2 separate regions of the Homo sapiens genome follow, and region 2 is linked to region 1. Evidence: promoter capture Hi-C in 16 types of primary human blood cells and fetal thymus (Javierre and others, 2016). All regions are on one chromosome and are shown on one strand. Each heading gives the region's core, a stretch centred on a gene start or on the middle of the fragment in contact. The rest is flanking DNA. Distances are from core to core; before and after follow the strand shown.

Evidence for each region. Contacts are between HindIII fragments. The CHiCAGO score rates a contact against its expected background, and 5 or more counts as called.
Region 2: a contact is called between the fragment with the promoter of TEX55 here and the fragment with the promoter of ADPRH in region 1, in 6 of 17 cell types (fetal thymus, naive CD4 T cells, total B cells and 3 more). The highest score is 8.9, in fetal thymus.

What each region holds. Positions count from the first base shown.
Region 1 is chr3:119,577,912-119,580,917 of GRCh38, reverse strand. It overlaps ADPRH (ADP-ribosylarginine hydrolase), which reads right to left and starts at 1,426. Exons shown (of 5, transcript NM_001125.4): 1 at 1,067-1,426; 2 at 282-367. RefSeq lists enhancers at 277-496, 1,437-1,536, 1,321-1,822 and a silencer at 1,117-1,256. The HindIII fragment of the contact is 4,349 bases long and covers 1-3,006 here.
Region 2 is chr3:119,144,797-119,147,549 of GRCh38, reverse strand. It overlaps TEX55 (testis expressed 55), which reads right to left and starts at 1,385. Exons shown (of 3, transcript NM_152539.3): 1 at 1-1,385. The coding sequence starts at 1,360. It also overlaps a transcript of IGSF11 not described here. RefSeq lists a silencer at 1,834-2,128. The HindIII fragment of the contact is 11,642 bases long and covers 1-2,753 here.

The sequences.
Region 1 (3,006 bases), core at 177-2,676:
TTCTCTTAGAAATGATCAGCTTCTAGAGAATTCGAATCTCTATTAATAATATACCCACCATGAATGAAATCCCTGGTAAAGCGCTGGCTTCCCTGTTGGTGCATTTCCTAAGAACCCCCCTCTTTCAGCCAATTCCTCAGGGTTCCCTTCTCCCTGTGGCTTTCAGGTCAAAGCCCTCCATCCCATCCAGGCCAATACTTTTATAAGGGTCTGGCAGACTAGCTCATTCTCCCCTCAGGTGAAACTTTTCCCTCCCCTCCACTTATCTAAACCCTATTTACCCAAGGTCTAGTTCAAGTCAGGAGGCTTCCAGAAGTGCTTCTGCAGCTGCACTGCTGTTGGCCATGGAATGCAGGCTGGAGAGCCCCTGGAGAAGGAGTAAACGACGAAGATGGATGCGTTCCACTACCCAGTTACTGGTAATGCTGAGTTTCTGAGCTCACAAAGGATATTTGTAAATGTTATTTACATAGTTTATTATTTACAGTGAAGCCTAGGCACTGAGATTCTGGGCTACTAGACCTGACAGACACCCGGGACAGCGGTTTGCCCATCTGTAAACTGGAGGGGGAAGTGGGGAGGTATAGGCTCTCGGAAGTTCCGTCCTGCGCTGCGATTTTCAGACACTAGGCCAAGACACTCTGCTTCTTGGCCTCGGAGGACTAACTTTAACCCCCCATACCCTCCCTCTCAATGTCCTCATTGTCCTTTCCGTAATTCCTTCTGGCTCCACCCTAATGTGTGCTTCTGTGAATTGCAAGCTGGGATGGGGGAAGAAGACCGGCATCTTTTTTCGGTTGTAAATTCCCTTTAACGTTCGCTTTCAGAACGCTGTAATTACTTAACTCCTCTGAACTTTCACGGGTCACATTCTCGTACCCGAACTATACATTCAGAACTAAGATCTGATCAGCTGCTTCCGGGCCATGCCCGGCTTTGGAAAGAAACGGGGCGGTTGACACGCTCCCACGATTTGCAAGACTGGGAATCCTCATGGTCGGCCACACTCGGAGAGCGCCAGGGGCGGGGGAGGGGAGCGCGGGGCCGAGGGCCGGGATCGCGATACCTGCTGTAGCCTGGACTGGAACGCGCGAGCGACGGGCGTGGCGCGGGCTCCCGGGGCCGGGGAAGAGGCCTTGGCTGCTGCGGGTGGACGAGGGCGCGGGTTGGGGCGGAGCCGGGTCACCGGGTTCCGGGACTGTCCCCAGATAAGCAGGGTGGCGGCGAGGGCCCCCGCACCTGCGCTTGGCCGCGCTGAGTGAGCTAATCTTGGAGCCTCCAAGGCGGCTTCCTGGCACCGCCGCGCCCTTCTGCACCCAAGCGAGAGTGGACGGGACCTCCGTCGCCCGCCCCAAATGCTCTGAAGAGCCCGGAGCCTGGTGCCCGGAATGTGGCGGCACCGGAAAGCCGGCTCTCGCCTGGCTGTGGTCAGTGACTCCCGTGTGGCCCCGGCTGACGCCTTCGCCCGTGCTCACGTCCGACTTTGTAGGACTGTAGTGGACCGGGTGTGCCCAGATGCTTGAAGAGCGTACTGAGTGTGCCGCCCTTGCCAGGGTTCTGGGCCCTCACGCATAAAGTGGGATAATAATATCTGCCTCTTAGAATGGTTGTTAAGGATTCAGTTAGTTAATTTTAACTAGTCATTTATTTGGCAGCAGCGTAGAATTCTTGTATCCTGATCGTAAATAAAAGCAAAGAAAAACGAAGAGTATTTTTGTCTAAATACATTAATCATGTCACTTTTAAAGCAAATCAGAATCACCATATGCAAATATTCTATATATTTCTCCAAAGTTTTAAATTTGCTATGCCTATTTTCTTGCTGTAATGACTAGCCTTGGTCTGAGAGCTTTTTAAAAAATTGATATATAATTTATATATAATGAAATGTCCTTACACCATAATCGAGATATGAAATATTTCCATCACTTTAAAACATTCTCTTGTGGCCTTCCCAGTGAATAACCATCTCCATCTCCAACTCTAGCCTAAGTGACTTTTGAGTGTTTACAAAAATCAAGTTCACCAATAAGGGAGGCAGAGATCACCTCCAACCCCCTACACCCTCTAGCTCTTAGTGAGCTAATCAGCTGCATCTAGAAGCCAAATTGACACTAGGCAGATTAACAAGAGAAAAGTATACAAATTTTATTAATTTTACATGTACATGGGGATGTTAAGAGACTGAATCCTGAAGAAAGTGTCCAAAGCAAGATGCTTTTATACTTTTTAGAAAAAGAGTGATAAATTTAAGAAGAAGTGACAGGACAAAGAAAATCCGGCTAGGGTGGTAAAAAATTTCTAGGGGAGCCCCTAGGAGATATATGGGGGGTGGGGTGTAAAACAGGTGGAAGATAATGGTTACTTTGCAAGAATGTTTACTCCAGTCCAAATGCCACCTCCAGTTCCAAATCTCTGGTGATGAGAGCTATTTTCTCGCTCTGGCGTGGAGAACATACCTCTCCTAGAGGAATCTTTATTGCTGGCTGCATGCAGGAAGAGACAGCTCAGCTCCTGTCAGGGAACCAGGCTCATTTGTCTTTCACACAGTATGCCAATCACTGAGGCGCACAAGTTTTGCAGTAGAGAAAGGGTGTATTCACAAGGCAGCCAAGACAGGAGACTGGAGAACAGGCCTCAAATGTGCCTTTCCAAAGATGGAATTTTAGGAGTGCTTATGGGATAGGGGAGGAAGGTGGTCCAAGGTTCAGAGAAAGATGAGGTAAGGAAAAGTGAGGCAATCGGTAATCTGAGCAAGCATAGTCAATCTTCATGGCTGTTCATAGAACACATGTTCACAAAATCGTGACGTTAGCATGATCTGAGAGTGGAGTTTTGGGCCTTCTGATGTCAAAAGGTCACCCATTGGACACTCACGCAGGCCAAGATGAAGGGCTGGTGGCTTGAACTGGACAAGAACTGACTCTAAGTTCCTGAAAAATAACTTAAGCAATATTTTCCATGGTGTCCTATCAGAGAAGTTATCTATAAGGAGGCAAGTGGAAT
Region 2 (2,753 bases), core at 136-2,635, 430 kb after region 1:
TGGTATAGTTCAATTTGGATGAGATGGAGGGGAGTCTTGGGAAAAGAGCTTGGTCTTTTGCTTGGAAGTTACTGGTGAATCTGGCATCAACTGGGTTGTAGGGTGGGATAGTGGTTGCATTCTGAGTTTCCATTTCAACTGAAGGCTTGGAATTGAGGTCTACTTGGCTATCCTCAAATTTGCAGGGTTGTACTCTGTAGTCAGCCTCTTTGTCCTCTTTGCTGTTGCCTAACTGGGGAAATATTCTGTCTTCAGACTGGCCACGTGTTTCATAGTAAGACAGCTGGTCTTTATGATTAGCTTGTCTGTCTGCTAAGTGGTCAGTCTGGTCAGATTCAGTGTAGTGAGCATTGTCAACTGGAGGTTGATCAGCATTACTATGAGCTTGGTCAATAGCCTGGTGTTCAGCTAGTTCAGTGGCTTGGCCGTACACTTGGTGGTGAGTCTTTACAGATGTTTTGTGGTCAACGAGGCCATACAATCTGAGGTCAGTCTGCTCAGAAGTTCCTGGGTCAGCCAGGCCAGCCAATCTGTAGTCAGTCTTCTCAGAACTTCTTCTCCTAACTTTCCCTGACATTCTGCGGTCAATCTGTACGGAAGGTCTTTGGTCAGATGGTACGGACGATCCACTGTCAATCTGTACAGAAGGACTTTGGTCAGATGGGACGGATGACCCACTGTCAATCTGCACAGAAGGTCTTCTCTCAGATAGTTTGGATAATCTGTGTGTAATCTGCTCAGAAGTTCTTCGCTCAGCCTCGCCAGACATTCTGCGGTCCATCTGCTCGGAAGCTCTTCTCTCAGACTGGCCTGCCATTCTGTGGTCGGTCTGTCTGGAACCTCTCTGGTCAGATGGCATAGCCAGTCTACCATCAATCTGCCCAGAAGTTCTTCTCTCAGCCTGGGTAGGTAATCTTCGTTCAGTCTGTTCAGCAGTTCTTTCCTCCGTCAGGCCAGACACCTGACCATCACTCTGTTCATGCTGTACATTATTAGCTTGGCTAGATGCCTTGCCTTTAGTCTGTTCAGACGGTGTTTGATTAACCTGATCATCTGCTCTAAGGTCAGAAACATCAGCAGGGTTGGATGCTCTGCGGCCAGCCTGACCAGGTGTACTATGCCCATTTTGTTCAGCTACTCCGTTGGTAGCTTGGCTAAATATGCTGGATTCAGCCTGGCTAGGCACTCTTAGGGCAGTCTGGTCAGCTATTCTGTGAGCAGTGTGGTTATCTGCCTTCCTTTCGGCCTGGTTCTTCTGGTCGTCTTCTTCCTGGCCCTTAGTGTGGCCAGCACTTGAGGGAGCGGCTGGGCTTTCATGTTTCAAGGGTTCAGCCAGAGCCTCTTGCGGAGGCTCTTCCATTTCCTGCCGCGTCCCTGACTGGTCTAGGTTGCCAGGCACTGTGGGTGGGGTTGGGCTGGGTCGTCTAGGCGACCCTCCAGGAACGCCCCATGATTCCCACGGGCTTTGTTCGGGTCACTGCGTGCGTCAGGGAGAGTGGCCGTCCCGCTGTTGTAAGTGGAGGGACGGCAGTCAGCTGACCCTGCAGTGTGCAGGCGAGCGCAGGGAGTACGCCATGTCCTGAGAAGGGGCGATTCTCAGGCTCTGGCAGTTACAGCTTCTCCTCACCCTGCCGAGCAACCAGGCCACGGGGCTCCGTGCATCGCCACCTAGAGTGTTACCCTCTTCCTTGTTCACAGAGGTTCTCCGCAGTGTGTGAGAAAGAGGCCCTCTCTCAGGTACTGCTCCTCTGATTAACATCCCCCACCGCACCTCCAAATGTCAACAGATGAACACACAACCAGCTGCACGAGGACCACAAAACTGAACAGAGGTTGTTGCTATTGCCATCCCCTTTGGGTATAGCTGTCTTGGCAGTGGAAACTCCTGCCCCAAGGTGTTTTCTTGCTGGATTAGACATGTGATCTGTGGCGGGAGAGCCAGAGAGAGGAGAGAAGATCCAGTGAGAATGGGTTCTAAAACTGCACCATCTAGTGGTCTTACAGCAGAGAGGCGAGTTAGAAGGAGGCCAAATCAGAGTTCCAGAAAGGAAGGGAGTAAGGAAAGTGGGAGAAAGATACCAGAAGGAATATTTAGCAAGTGGAGAATTTGTATTTGATAGTGTTGGCCAGTGGGGCCCAGTTTTTGAGATTTGGTCCTCCCACTTTGCAATCAACCTTAAGAATGCACCTCAGAGTCAGTAGGCTGTCTACTTTCAGGAGTAGGCCAGTACAGAGGTGGTGATTGATGAGACAAATTACTTTGACCTTGCAAAGCCTGAAATCACTGAGGCAGGCCAAGGGTTGGTAGTGTGATGCCAGATATTCCTTTAGTAGGGATTTAACTGCATTAAACAATTAGAAATGAGACTTAAAATCCAAATTCAAATACTTGTGACAAAGGAGAGTGGATACACTTGACACCATACTTAGGAATGGAAAGGGGAATCTAAGCACACTGAAGTAAAGTCATTTATGTAACAGTGCCTAGAACATAATAGGTGCTCAAGAAGTGCTTGTTGAATGTCACTTTATGAATTATCTACCTTATTTATTTAAAAATGCATGACACCATTGGATACTGTGTTTAGAGTAAAATAGGTCTTGGGCTATGGCTTGTAGCTTCAAAGTGCTATTGGTTTTGGAGATTTATTTTTCCATTTTATAACTTAAATGTAATAATCATAGAAATATAAAAAAGAAAGCGTAAAGAAAAAAATTCCCAAACACTCAAGAGATAACCTGTATTGACATTT